Linked DNA regions of Homo sapiens: all the other regions are linked to region 2. The links are contacts of gene promoters, found by promoter capture Hi-C in blood cells and fetal thymus (Javierre and others, 2016). All regions are on one chromosome and are shown on one strand. The core of a region is centred on a gene start or on the middle of the fragment in contact, and the rest is flanking DNA. Distances in the headings are between cores, read along the strand shown.

The links. The method cuts DNA at HindIII sites, captures the fragments that hold promoters and counts their contacts. A CHiCAGO score of 5 or more calls a contact.
Region 1: a contact is called between a fragment that was not itself captured here and the fragment with the promoter of THYN1 in region 2, in 6 of 17 cell types (non-activated CD4 T cells, activated CD4 T cells, naive CD8 T cells and 3 more). The highest score is 11.0, in non-activated CD4 T cells.
Region 3: a fragment that was not itself captured here is called in contact with the fragment with the promoter of THYN1 in region 2 in 6 of 17 cell types (activated CD4 T cells, naive CD8 T cells, non-activated CD4 T cells and 3 more); the score reaches 8.3 in activated CD4 T cells.
Region 4: a contact is called between a fragment that was not itself captured here and the fragment with the promoter of THYN1 in region 2, in 2 of 17 cell types (non-activated CD4 T cells and total CD4 T cells). The highest score is 7.4, in non-activated CD4 T cells.
Region 5: a contact is called between a fragment that was not itself captured here and the fragment with the promoter of THYN1 in region 2, in 1 of 17 cell types (non-activated CD4 T cells). The highest score is 6.6, in non-activated CD4 T cells.

What each region holds. Positions count from the first base shown.
Region 1 is chr11:133,919,484-133,922,183 of GRCh38, reverse strand. IGSF9B (immunoglobulin superfamily member 9B) reads left to right here. Exons shown (of 20, transcript NM_001277285.4): 17 at 1-7; 18 at 787-2,442. Among named protein-coding and RNA genes, the nearest start is that of MIR4697, 22 kb to the right of the region's middle. The HindIII fragment of the contact is 9,648 bases long and covers 1-2,700 here.
Region 2 is chr11:134,251,987-134,254,686 of GRCh38, reverse strand. It overlaps THYN1 (thymocyte nuclear protein 1), which reads left to right and starts at 1,335. Exons shown (of 7, transcript NM_014174.3): 1 at 1,335-1,847. The coding sequence starts at 1,805. ACAD8 (acyl-CoA dehydrogenase family member 8) reads right to left here and starts at 1,119. Exons shown (of 11, transcript NM_014384.3): 1 at 978-1,119. The coding sequence starts at 1,086. RefSeq lists an enhancer at 1,205-1,574. The HindIII fragment of the contact is 5,608 bases long and covers 1-2,700 here.
Region 3 is chr11:133,991,809-133,994,512 of GRCh38, reverse strand. No RefSeq gene overlaps it. Among named protein-coding and RNA genes, the nearest start is that of LINC02730, 15 kb to the left of the region's middle. RefSeq lists an enhancer at 378-878. The HindIII fragment of the contact is 158 bases long and covers 1,284-1,441 here.
Region 4 is chr11:133,902,457-133,905,156 of GRCh38, reverse strand. It overlaps IGSF9B (immunoglobulin superfamily member 9B), which reads left to right. Exons shown (of 20, transcript NM_001277285.4): 20 at 1-2,700. Among named protein-coding and RNA genes, the nearest start is that of MIR4697, 5.2 kb to the right of the region's middle. The HindIII fragment of the contact is 7,551 bases long and covers 1-2,700 here.
Region 5 is chr11:133,971,275-133,973,974 of GRCh38, reverse strand. No RefSeq gene overlaps it. Among named protein-coding and RNA genes, the nearest start is that of IGSF9B, 16 kb to the right of the region's middle. The HindIII fragment of the contact is 9,581 bases long and covers 1-2,700 here.

The DNA.
Region 1 (2,700 bases), core at 94-2,593, 330 kb after region 2:
AGTCTCCGTAAGTGTCTCAGATCCTGGGAGAATTGTGCTGTTCATGGCAGGGGGCGCATAGGTAGACCGCTCGCCTTACCCAGCCCCATGTTAGTGTTTCTAAGCCATTTCTTCTTGATTGACCTGTGTGTTAATTGTACTTGCCCAGCCCCATCTCAGTGTTTCTAAGCCATTTCTTCTTGATTGACCTGTGTGTTAATTGTAAGTTGTCCACGCTGGTAGAGGGAGTGGCAGTGCAGATGATCCAAATTAGCCAGTAATCAGTTTCTCTTCAGCCTTGGAATGTATTTCTTTAGTGTTTTCCCACCCTAGCAGATTTGCCTCCTTAATATGTGTTGCTTAAGTTGATATTAAAGTGAGCTTGCTTGTCTTGAAAAGAGGGGAATGAAGCTGGAGGTGTGCTTAGAGCACAGCAGAGAGGGGGCAGGCCAGCACAAAAGTGAAGAGGCGGGTGTTCACTGGAAAGACGGATGATGGGGGGGGCCGGGCGCGGCGGCTCACACCTGTAATCCTGGCACTTTGGGAGGCTGAGGCAGGAGGATTGCTTGAGGCCAGGAGTTCAAGACCAGTCTGGGCAACATAGCAAGACCCCGTCTTTAAAAAAAAAAGGAGGATTCACGTCCAGACGGTGGAGAGTTGGCCAAAGCATTTCACACCACGATACACAGCCAGTTTTCTTGAGCGTGAGGATCCTGGGTGCTGGGTGGTTGCCGAGAGAGGGAAAGGAAGTCCTGGCCAGCACACTGCCCCACCTCATCCCCTCCCGGCTCTTGCTCCTCCTTGCAGCTTGTCCTCTGGCAAGGTGAGCCCCGAGAGCATCCGCACGCTCCGAGCGCCGTCAGAATCCTCCGACGACCAGGGCCAGCCCGCGGCCAAGAGGATGCTGAGCCCCACCCGTGAGAAGGAGCTGTCGCTGTACAAGAAGACCAAGCGGGCCATCAGCAGCAAGAAGTACAGCGTGGCCAAGGCAGAGGCCGAGGCAGAGGCCACCACGCCCATCGAGCTCATCAGCAGAGGCCCTGACGGCCGCTTCGTGATGGACCCTGCCGAGATGGAGCCCTCGCTGAAGAGCAGGCGCATCGAGGGCTTCCCCTTCGCCGAGGAGACGGACATGTACCCCGAGTTCCGCCAGTCGGACGAGGAGAACGAGGACCCACTGGTGCCCACATCTGTGGCCGCCCTGAAGTCCCAGCTCACCCCTCTGTCATCCAGCCAGGAGTCCTACCTGCCACCACCAGCATACAGCCCTCGGTTCCAGCCCCGCGGGCTGGAGGGCCCCGGTGGCCTGGAAGGTCGGCTTCAGGCCACAGGCCAGGCCCGGCCCCCTGCCCCCCGGCCCTTCCACCATGGCCAGTATTATGGGTACCTCAGCAGCAGCAGCCCTGGGGAGGTGGAGCCGCCCCCGTTCTACGTGCCAGAAGTGGGCAGCCCCCTGAGCTCCGTCATGTCGTCCCCGCCCCTGCCCACCGAGGGGCCCTTTGGCCACCCCACCATCCCCGAGGAGAATGGAGAGAATGCATCCAACAGCACGCTGCCCTTGACTCAGACACCTACAGGAGGGCGCTCCCCTGAGCCCTGGGGCCGGCCAGAATTCCCCTTCGGGGGGCTGGAGACCCCAGCGATGATGTTCCCCCACCAGCTGCCACCCTGTGATGTGCCCGAGAGTCTGCAGCCCAAGGCCGGCCTCCCCCGAGGACTGCCCCCCACCTCCCTGCAGGTGCCCGCGGCCTACCCGGGCATCCTGTCTCTGGAGGCACCGAAGGGTTGGGCAGGCAAGTCGCCCGGCAGGGGCCCTGTCCCAGCGCCCCCCGCCGCCAAGTGGCAGGACAGACCTATGCAACCTCTGGTAAGCCAAGGGCAGCTGCGACATACAAGCCAAGGCATGGGCATACCTGTGCTGCCTTACCCCGAGCCGGCTGAGCCGGGGGCGCACGGCGGCCCCAGCACATTTGGCCTGGACACCCGGTGGTATGAGCCCCAGCCCCGGCCCCGGCCTAGCCCTCGGCAGGCCAGGCGCGCCGAGCCCAGTTTACATCAAGTGGTGCTACAGCCCTCCCGGCTCTCACCTCTGACCCAAAGCCCCCTCAGCTCCCGCACCGGCTCCCCTGAGCTCGCCGCCCGTGCCCGGCCTCGCCCGGGCCTCCTGCAGCAGGCAGAGATGTCAGAGATCACCCTGCAGCCGCCGGCTGCAGTCAGCTTTTCTCGAAAGTCTACGCCGTCCACAGGCTCCCCCTCCCAGAGCAGCCGCAGTGGGAGTCCCAGCTACCGGCCCGCCATGGGCTTCACCACTCTGGCCACCGGCTACCCTTCCCCTCCACCCGGCCCCGCCCCTGCTGGGCCTGGGGACAGCTTGGACGTGTTTGGACAGACGCCTTCCCCTCGAAGGACGGGGGAGGAATTGCTCCGACCGGAGACCCCACCACCCACGTTACCTACTTCAGGGTGAGTGCGCCGCCTCTTCCGCCACCCGCACCTGGGCAACTTCCTTCCCCCACCCGCCTCGCCCTGCCCTCCACCCCGTCCATCCGCCCGGCGACAGGGCTCGTGCGGACATGCCGCACCGGCGTCCCTCGGAGAGGAGTTCTGGCCGCCGCGGTTTGGGCGGGGTGCAGTCGCTGGGGCGCAGCGGGCCCACCTGCCCAGGTGCCCTGCCGGGAGCATGAGGCGTCTTCTCCGGCAAGCCCTGAGCTCTCGGCGGGC
Region 2 (2,700 bases), core at 86-2,585:
GCTTCGGTATCAACCAGGGTAATCTGGGTTATCAAATTCTAAGCGCTAGGCCAGGGCAGCACCTCTTGAATGAGTTTTAGGACATTCAGAAGAAAACAGTATTCTATGCCTTACTGTACTTTATAGATCTGATATCTAAGGGACTTATTCTGTTGTAAAGAAAACTGCCATTTATTTAAAATAAATTTAAAAATATTTCAGAAGAAAAAAGTGTTTATAAACATTCTTGGCAGAGAAGTCACAAACTGGCCGGGTCTCCACCACTCCTCGCTACATTCAAATTACTGTTCAGAGCCTAAAGACACTCAAGTTTGTCAGCTCTGGTAGAGTTTCCCACTGGCAATAATAATTATTTTTCCTGCATGAGTTTCAACACTAAAAGTGTCTTATAGCCAGAGGTGTTAAGATACCAAATCTTTGTGTGTGAGCAAATCTTGTATGACCTGGAGTTCTTGTGCAGTTGTCACCATCAGCACCCAGCCAGCTTCTTATATTCTCACTGCTTTTATGACCTACTGTTATGATTAAAAACCAACCAACCCAACAACAACCAAGCCCCAAGTTTCTTCACTTCTCTAAGCATCCGAGGGTGACCGGCCGCAGGAGGACCCGGGCCGGAGGGGAACCTGCGGGGGGATGACCGGCCGGAGGGGAACCTGCGGGGGGTGACCGGCCGGAGGAGGACCGGGGCGGGGGTGACCGGCCGGAGGAGGACCGGGGCGGGGGTGACCGGCCGGAGGAGGACCCGGGCAGGGGTGACGGGCCAGATGGGGACCCGGATGGTGGTGACCGACCGGAGGGGGCAGCCAGGCCGGGGGTGACCGGCCGGAGTAGGGAGCCAGGCCGGGGGGGTGACTGGCCGGAAGGGGAGCTGACGCCGGGGTGACTGGATGGAACGGGGAGACTGCAGCCCCTCGCGGACATATGTCCGCCGGGGTTCTGGACACCTGTCCTACTGCCCGCCAGGAGATCCTTACGGTCGATGCAGGAGGTCAAGCTCCGGTGGCCGGTCTGGACGAGGACCCGGAGACCGCCGGGCAGGCAGCCGAGGCGCGCCCCGAAACGCCGGCAGCCGCTCCACAGCATAGCCGCCGCAGCTCCGCGTTCAGCTAAGAGTCTGAACGCCTTCGACCTCCGTTGCGCTCGCACTGGCGGGACCTGCGACCCGGCAACGCCTGTCCCACTGCACCCTGGGGGTTGTAGTCCTCCCACGAGCCCTAACAACCCAGGTGCCAGGCGGGCTCCCAAGGGGACAGGACTACAATTCCCAGAAGTCCTCGGGGCCTCGGCGCCGCAGAGATGCACCGCCCACCAAGCGCCGCGGGGGTCGCGCTGCACAGCCTGCGGCGCAGCGGAGGCGGACCGCAGTCGAGTCTGCAGAGTGTTGGGTCTGTAGCCAGCAAATTACTTCATCATCTAGATTATCCATTCAGTTGATCCTAATTAGCAAGGATAACAAGGTAACACAAGGCTTACTTATATTCACCCAACAAAAGTGTCTCTGTGGAGCCACTTCCCAGTGAACTACATACTGAGATAGGGGTTCCTGGATGAGAAGGACCAAGGACAGAACCGAGAAGAGTTTAGGGGCAGGTTATGCGAGATGGAAATGGCGCAGATAACGGAGGGAAGGATTTGAGGGCTCAAACGTAGGCGTCTGTGTTTCGCAAAAGTTGGAGACGTTCTAGGCTGCCTCTCGTTGCCTCCATCTCGCTCTGCGCGGGTTTTGGAGGACATTAGCATTCTTTCTTGTATCTCCGTTGATTCCAGAATCGTCCGCACTAAAGTCCCCTGCAGCGTGACCATGTCGAGACCCCGGAAGAGGCTGGCTGGGACTTCTGGTTCAGGTGAGCTGCCCCTAGGCTGCACAAAGGCAGCCCAAGAAAAAACTTTTCTCGAAGAGCCTGTTTAGTACTCATTTTTCACTCCCTGCTTTTTGAGAACCCTTTGTGATATTTTTACTCCATTATCCTTAATCACTCTCCATCTTCTTTACTTGTCTCACCAAGCTCCTACCTACAGTTCCTTTTTCTTGTTTATTCAGGCAATGGTTGTTGTGCACAAAGACTCTTTGAGATACCAGGTGGCGTGCTAAAGAATATAAAGCGCCTGCTTGCGGGTGAACTGCAAACAGATGTGATGGGGTTCAGGAAAATGGATTGTTAAGTTTATGGAGGGAGGAATCACGGGGAAGGCCTCGAGAAGGATGTGGAATTTGAGCCCAGCCTTGAAGAATGGGAGACTTTCCACGGGCAAAGTTTAGTACTAAGAAAACGTGATGTCGTTTTTATAATCACAAAGATGGATGGCATTCTAAGTGGATGGAGGAGGAGGAACATTGGAAGGTACAGAAAGTACCTCTTTTGGGAATGACAGGGGTTCCAGATATACTACAGCACATTGCAGTTATTTATCAATATGTGGTGTTTGCAGTGGGCCTGTTAACTCCTAAGGGGCCATTAGGAAACTAGGTTAGGAAGGTATGCTGGGTTCAGAGCATTAGACAGCCATAAATGGTATTTAATGACAATTGATGTAGGGACTTTGACTAAATTCAGAGGCAGTATAGTCATTAAGTAGCTTCAGATAGACCTCAGTGACAGGTGCTGACCTCATATCTTGATTCCACCATTACTGGATGTGTGATCTGGAGCATGCTTCCCAGATGAAGAGTAGAACATCTCACAGGTTATGTAGATT
Region 3 (2,704 bases), core at 113-2,612, 260 kb after region 2:
CCTCTGCTCTATAATCTTCAAGGATTTTTCACTGCTGAAGGCATCACGCCTGAACTCCTTTCCTTGGCATTTAGGTGCTGCACAGTATGGCTGCGTTTCCTCCTCTCCACTCAGGTATTTCTCCTCAGTGGCACCCCCCTCTGGCACCCACAAGGGAGAAGTAAAGATCTCCTAGTGGTGGCAGAGCCCATTATCCAACCTGGAGAGAAACAGATCATTCCGTAGGCTGACGCTATAATTAAAGGTTAAAGGTATAAATCTGCTGCGCAGATATGATGAAAAGAAAGCATCTCTTAGACTGGGTAGGTCTTTAAATGTAAGCTCCAAGGTGCATGTCCCTGCAGCCTGGAGGGCTGGCGCGTAGGTTCCTGACAGGCGCCAGGGGCCTCTGGTGACGGCGGTGCCCATGTGGCCACTCGCCAGGGCTGCACTGTCTGGAATGGTAGCCACTAGCATATCTGTTTCTTTACATTTTTTTTTTTTTGAGACGGAGTCTTGCTCTGTAGCCCAGGTTGGAGCGTAGTGGCGTGATCTTGGCTGCAATCTCCACCTCGTGGGTTCAAGCAATTCTCCTGCCTCAGCCTCCCAAGTAGCTGGGATTACAGGCACATGACACCACCCCTTTTTGTATTTTTAGTAGAGATGGGCTTTCACTATGTTGGCCAGGCTGGTCTTGAACTCGTGACCTCAGGTGATTCACCCGCCTCAGCCTCTCAAAGTGCTGGGATTACAGGCATGAGCCACCATGTCTGGCCTTTTACATTTAAATTAATGACGATGAAATAGAATTCGAACCTCAGTTCCTCAGGCACATTGGCCATGTTGTAAGTGCTGAGAAGCCCCCTCTGCTTGGCTAGTGGCTGCCATATTGAATGTCTCCATCACTGCAGAAAGTCAAACTGCAAAGCACTGAAGTAGAGAGACCAGTCCCAAGTATGGATCCCAAAGCCCTTGGTCACAGCTGGTTAGTGACAGAGCGAGGACTATGACAGAGAAGGCTGGGGCGAGAGGAGGCTGAGAGCCACAGACCCTTCCAGAAGGACAAAGGAAGCGTCCTCGTGGTTCATGGTGATTGTCTCTGCAATGCCTGGGGGCCAGAGAGAGTAGCCCCCGCCTCAGCTGGGAGGTGCCACCCAGGCCACGGCTCCAGCAGCCTGGGCTGCAGGCAGAAGTTTGGCTCTGCCCCCACACTCCCGGAGCCCCACCCCAGGAAGGCACAGTGGCAACACCACACTGAAGCTACGACTTCAGTCTGAGGTTCACGTGAGCCCCTGGTCCAAGCTTCCAAGTGGTTTCAGCAAATATATTAGATATGCTTGATTGAAATGTGTAGATCAAATGAAAATACATGATACTAGAAAGTTTGACTACAATCTACACTGCAGTTTATATTATTGTAGTCTATCGCTTCTGTGCAAATAAGTTATAACATAATAAAGCTTGCTTAACTTGAAGAAAAAATGAAACACCTATGGATTTGACACAATTTTTTTAAATTTTATTATTATTATACTTTAAGTTTTAGGGTACATGTGCACAAGGTTCAGGTTTGTTACATATGTATACATGTGCCATGTTGGGGTGCTGCACCCATTAACTCATCATTTACATTAGGTATATCTCCTAATGCTATCCCTCCCCACTCCCCCAACCCCACGACAGGCCCCGGTGTGTGAGGTTCCCCTTCTTGTGTCCAAGTGTTTTCATTGTTCAATTCCCACCTATGAGTGAGAACATGCGGTGTTTGGTTTTCTGTCCTTGCGATAGTTTGCTCAGAATGATGGTTTCCAGTTTCATCCATGTCCCTGGGATTTGATACAATTTTATTGAACAGAAGTCTTAGATTCTGAGGACATGGAAATTCCAGCAGCCAGCAGGGCCATTTGCACCCGCAGAAAGAGATGCACTGTGTTAGGAGAAAACAGTTGTCTGCATTTTCTGTTTTTTTGCATTTCTGTCTCATATTTTAAGAATTCCCTTTGAATAATTTCAACCTTGTATCAACTGATCTAAGAAAAACAAATGTTCACACTTTGCAGAGACAGGTTAGTGATCAGATTAACATCTCTAAACGGGGGAGAGGGTGACAGTGGTTCTTCTGACTCCTAATGACCTAGGGCAAGGCTGAGGCAGACTGTGATACCAGCTGGGATTGACACCTGGTGATCCTTTCCTGCCTGGGGTGTTCCCTTCCAGAGAGCATCACGAAGGTGTGGCCTCAGGCAAAATTGTGAAACAAAAATCTTTGTCTCCAGGACTTCCTTCCCCTCCTTCTTCCTAGATACCCTATTCCGGCTTTTTCTCCTCAGGTATTTGATCTACTAGGGTGATAAAATGGCAGTGCGGAAATACTAATGTTTTACTCCTCCCAGGTTGCATATGAATAATAACATTTACATTTTTAACACAAAGCTCTGGAGACAGTGCCAGAATCAAAGGCAGGAGCAGATATCTCGAGTCTCAGCAAGTGGGTGTCTACCTGCGTGCCAGCCGGGCCAGCTCACTGCCATTTCTGAATGCATTTTCTTTTCTTTCTTTTTTCAAATTTCTAATTTTTATTTTAAGTTCAGGGGTACACGTGCAGGATGCGCAGGTTTGTTACGCAGGTAAAGGTGTGCCATGGAGGTTTGCAGCAGAGACCATCGAATCACCCAGGGATGAAGCCCAGCATGCATTGGCTGTTCTTCCTGATAGGCTCCCTCCC
Region 4 (2,700 bases), core at 39-2,538, 350 kb after region 2:
TGCTTTGCTTGCATGTAAAGGAGCTTTGGGGGCACTGCAGGGATGGCTGGGGAGCTGCAGGAAGGGGCAGAGGGTGGAGCTGAGCGGGTCATGGAAGGCTCTGTTGAGTCCAGCCTCTGTGGTACTCTAGGAGCTGTGCACATTCCCACCGGGGCTTCTAACCCAGCCCTGCCTGGGTATCTTCTTCATATAAAGTGGATCTAGTAGGCAGTGTGTAGAGCCCCATGTGGCTGTGTGTGTTGCTTTAGGGAGAGGGCCAAAGAGGTGCCTTATTGGCCAGCTCTAGATTGACTAGGGTAATGGATGGGGCACTGGTGTTTCAGGAGGGGGAGTTGGAGAACTGGAGGGTGGAGGGGAGGCCTGTGTGCTTTGCCAGGTGTTGGTGAGGCTGGAAGGGGCACAGAGGGTGAGGTCAGGCATGGGTTAGGATGGTGAGACCACCCCAGGGGACACCAAGCCTCAGCATCTCTTTGAGTCATGTGATAACTTAGTTACTTGTAAGGGTGCAGGGTACACACTGGGGGATCATCCCAAGATGACGAAGAATGATTGCCTGGTGGGCATCTGGCTGGGGAGTGGTAGCCATGCAGGGCATGTGGGAGGGGGATCTGGGCATCAGGGACGGATTGTGGGGTGGGGTCCTGCATGTGAACGCAGACTGGATCTTGGGAGAGGTCTTGCTTCTTAGCTAGATCTTCCTTGCTTCTTCTAGAATTAGCCTCTAACACTAAGTGCCCAAACCAAACATGGACATCTTCTTTATATTGTATTTCAACTTCATTTGTTTTGGGGGCTCCTCAGGCCCAAAGCTGAGAAACTTGTCTTGAGATGCCCATCCTATCACCAGCTCTTCATCAGTGGAGAAGGAAGTGCCATTCTCATTTTCCTAAGCTGCAGCGGTGGGTTGCCTCTCCGTCCACAATCTGAAAATGTTCATGGGCCTTGGTGATGGTGATGGTGATAGAGAGGGGGAGCTGGAGCCTGACGTGCCTTCATCCCCCTTTCCTCTTGAGGTAGAGAGGCTTCCTTCCGGCCATGAAGTTGCACAGTGGCTTCGTGAGGCCTTCTCTTTACTTTCTCTTCTTTTGATAGGCTAAAGTCACTAGTCTGTGGTGGAGGTGGGAGGGCAAAAGAGTTTCACCTGAAACTCTTGGCTTGACCAGCCATTCTTCTCTCTTTAATGTCTCCAGCTCTGCTTCTTTTTAGATTAAGAGGCAGAATGAAAAATCTCTTCTTTAGAAGAAGTCAGTAAACCAAGGATCAAAGCCCAGATTGGACTTTCGCACTCTTACCAGCTTGCTGTTTGGCTAGGGGTACCAATCACCACCCTTCCCTCTGACTGCGAGTGAATCCACACTGGTTCAGAGCCTTATTTCTGGGTTCCTGTCTGTACTCTCAAAACCTTCTTTCAGGAGCAAGTATAATAACCCCACCAGATGTTCTGTGTGTTGGGTTGCCGAGAAGGTGGAAGTTTTTTTCAACCTCATTTTAAGCTGTTAGAAAAACACTCAGTAGATTGAATTTGGTCCAAAGACACCACCATCCCCTGAGGGATCCCATGTAGGATAAGGATAAATGAAGCATCCATACAGGGGTCATTAATGGCTGCTCACATCTTAGAGAAGGAAGAGTCTGGGTATCTTGGTTGCCATATACTCTGGTGGAACAGTGGCCAGTCATTAAAATCACATGGGTGTTGTCTTCTGCGGTGTAGAAGACAGTAGTAGTAGTTAGGGTTTCGGACGAGAGCTGGTGAAAAGCTACCGGCTTTGGAGCCCTGGCTGGGAGAGCTAGATTGGACAGTTTTAACCCCGTGGCTCAAATGCTCAGCTCCTGTCACTGGTCCTTGGTTGTCACCATTCCCATCACACTAGATGGGGACGTGAATGGCTGCCTGGGCCTGCCTTTCTTTCGGGTCTTGAAGAAGTGTGCTCCACCAATCCTACCTCTCTGTGGCACTGGATTTCCTGGATTTATTTTGCGAACTAGGGCAGGTTCTCCCTCGCCACCCCGTATACACACCAGTTAGCTTCCCTTCCCTTTTCCTTTCCCCACTTCTGTATGGCTCCAGGGATCGTGAACATGTGCGTGGTTTACGATGGGGAGGTGGTGGGAGGGGCAGGGAATCTCGGAGGGCAGGGGGTTGGGCTGGGGAGGTGACTTGCATTTTCGGCCTTAGAAATGCTGCGGGCATGCACGTGTGGGGTTTTCATATAAGCCATGGGAGGGGCGAGTGCCCAGCCCTCCTCACGCTGGTGGTAGAACCCAGGGCTTTGGCCTCCTTTTGGCATAGTGGTCTATGAAGCTGTATTTCTGGTGGAGGGATGAGCCTCCTCACGGTCATCTTGCAGTTCTTGAAAGGGTAGTTGTCAGCCACTCTATCAATGAGGTTTTATATGGCCTCCCATGAACAACGAGAGGTGTGCCATGGCCGACGGTGTCCTGGCAGGGCTGGAGAAGGGATTGTCTCATGTGTCCTTCTGCAGGCACCAGGTTGTCCCCCTGGTCTCTAACCCCCAGCCAGCTGTCTAGTCCAGTGTTTCTTTTCTGGATTCAGGAAGTAAGTGGGGTGTGTGTGTGTGTGTGTGGGGTGTGTGTGTGTATGTGGTGTGTGTGGTATATGTGTGTGGTGTGCATGTCTGTGTGTGGTGTGCATGTCTGGTGTGTGTGTGTGTTGTGTGTGGTGTGTGTATCTGTGTG
Region 5 (2,700 bases), core at 77-2,576, 280 kb after region 2:
CGACTCCCAGAACAACACAGAATTACTGAAGCCATGGCTCAGAGGCACCATCGAGGGTATGCTCTTGGACGTCAGAGCTGCCACTGGCCCCAGAGAAGCCTCTAGAGACCTGCAGATGGGAGAAGAGACAGTGGAATTCAGGGAGCAGGCAGTCAGATGGAGAGGCTGTGCAGGCTAACATTTCGAATCTTGGAAAATGAAGCATGAACACTGGAGACTCCTGCAAGCCTGTGATGACCATGATAGCCACCAACAGCTAGGGCTGCAGGAAGAACACCCCCTCCCGTTTGTCTGCCAAATCTTGTGCAAGTGCGCGCGATGGGTGGCATCTAATCCACACCCAGAAACATAGTGCAAGGTGTTTTGGGAAATGCTTTCCAACCTTGTGGTGTCGATGGTGGAATGCTGGGAGTGAAATGGTGGATGAGCGAGCCAGCCACAGGGGTCTTCCACAGGCTTCTCTCCACTACTCTGGCCTGCAAGAGATCACCGAATGGCAAATCCCTCTCAGTCCACGCAGCTCTTACTGGCGGGGTATGGGGGCCCGAGCGGAGTGGGGGCAGAGTTGCTGGTCCTTAAGCCCTCCGGGATGGTTGGAAAAGCTCTGTATGATCGAGGACAGGAAATAGGTTACACAGAGAAGGTTCAGACCACGGACATGGAGACCATGAGGACAGAGACTTCGGCTTTATGTGCCAGGCTTCTGATTCCAGTGCTGGGGCCAAGTCCTGAGGTGTTGATGGGGCACAGCACTGAAGACGTCCTCCCCAGATCATACACATCTATCTTCAGCTGCTGTAAGCCTGCAAATGCAGCTTATCTGGGGGGAGGCGGAGGCCAAGAACTCACTAGGAATATTAGTAATATATTAGTATAGTAAAGGGAAATTAGTAGACAAAATTAGAGACAAAACTCAAATAAGGCTTCTTCCATAGATTGACAGACATCTGACTTTTTCAAGATCTTCCTTTTGCACAGGGAAGGCCACGGTGCCCTTCACCCTCTTCCAAGGGTCAGATAACCCCCAGGTCTCACCCTCAGGCGCTGCAGAGCCTCGCACTGAGAACTGTGAGCAGAAATGCCAAACAGTGGCTCTTCCTTCAGACAAGCTGCAGACCAACCGTTTATTATTGAAATGGCTTTCCTTCCACTTCATGCCAACCGGTGAACATTCTGGGGAGGGAGATTTTACTCTCTTTAGAGAGAATTCTAGAGCTGTTCGGCAGAGAACCGGCTCTGTGATGAGGCCTCTGCTCCTCCGGTGTCCTTGGGCATGGTATGTTCGGTGTGAGGGACAGTCCCTTGCTGGGAATGTCATTAAGGAGAGTTGGGCACCGAGAGAATGTGGGCTGGAGGGACTCGAGGATCTCCCAGAGCTTTTCTCCTGATATTCTGTGTTTCTGTGACTTAACCTGGAGATGTGCCTGGCAGGAAGCCATTGGCCATTGGCGGGGAGTAGAGAATTTGACCATAAGGAAAGGAGCAGTGGAGTCTGAGGCCTTGGGTGTCTGCTCGGGCTGTATTGGATGGCTGGTCCTGCTCTGTCTTCTTTCTCCTCTATACTTGCCATTCATGTTCCCATTCTGTGTGGGAGGGGAGTGAGCTGGTGGCTGTCATTCTGTGTTGGCATCTGTAGGGATTGGCACCTCCTTTCCAATGGTTTGGGGCCTCAGGTGCAGATGCACTCCAAGCTCCTCTGAGGACTGAGGTGTAGAGAGAGCCCAGCTGAGTTATAACGGGCTTTGTCTGGTGGAGAAGTGGCTGGGCATTTCTCCAACACCCCAAAGGGATGATGGGGCAGGGTCCATTGCAGGGGAGGGCACGCCACAGGCCTCCACAACGGCAGAGGAGTTTTGGCTCGGAGGTGTGTGTCGCAGGATGCCGGGCCCCTCCCACCGTAACTGATGGTGGGTGTGCTCACACGTGGAGCTAGGAGAGCAGCCGGGGAGGGGGCTGGGATGGGCTAGAATCCAGCTCCTCACTTGGCCAGAGCATGCTTCCTGTGAGCCTCAGAGTGTCCTCTTCTCTAGCCAATGGCATGCGTCTGTACCCCTGCATATGAGTGGGCCTGTGTGCTTTTTGTGTACGTGCATGTAGACATGCATGAAAGTGTCTGTCTATATCAAGCTATGTATGTGTCTACATGTGGATACCCATATGTGGCCCGGTGCATTGTGTGTGCATGCTGATCCATATGCTTCTTGGGCAAGGGGATGAATGCATGTGTGTGTGTGCATGTGCATACATGTGTGCATGCACATTCCAAGTTTGCACGTGCAGGTCTCTTGCCGGGCTTTGCCTTGGGCCATTGGTTCCTAGAGGGTGAGTTTGGGTTTGTCCTCCATGCTCCAGGGTCGATGGCATTGATCCAAGAGGAGTGAAGAATCAATTGTAATTTGGTTGGAGGGCCTGGCACCAGAGTGTGTGAAGAGTAATTAGAGGGAGAGGAGCCGATGCAGAGGGCTGGGCCCACTGCTCTTGGTAGGGGCTGCAGGCCTGTGGGCAGATGGGGGCAGCGTGGGCGGAGCAAAGCCTCATTCAGCAGGTTCCGGGACTCTTCATGTGAGTGCTTGATGCCCAGCACAGCCTCCTTTCCTTTCCTGGGCTCAGGACAAGCTCCGAGAAAAGCCCACAGGGAGTGTTGGGGTGGAGGCCACGCTGCTTGTTTGCTGGTCTACAGCGTGATGGGAACAGCATCTC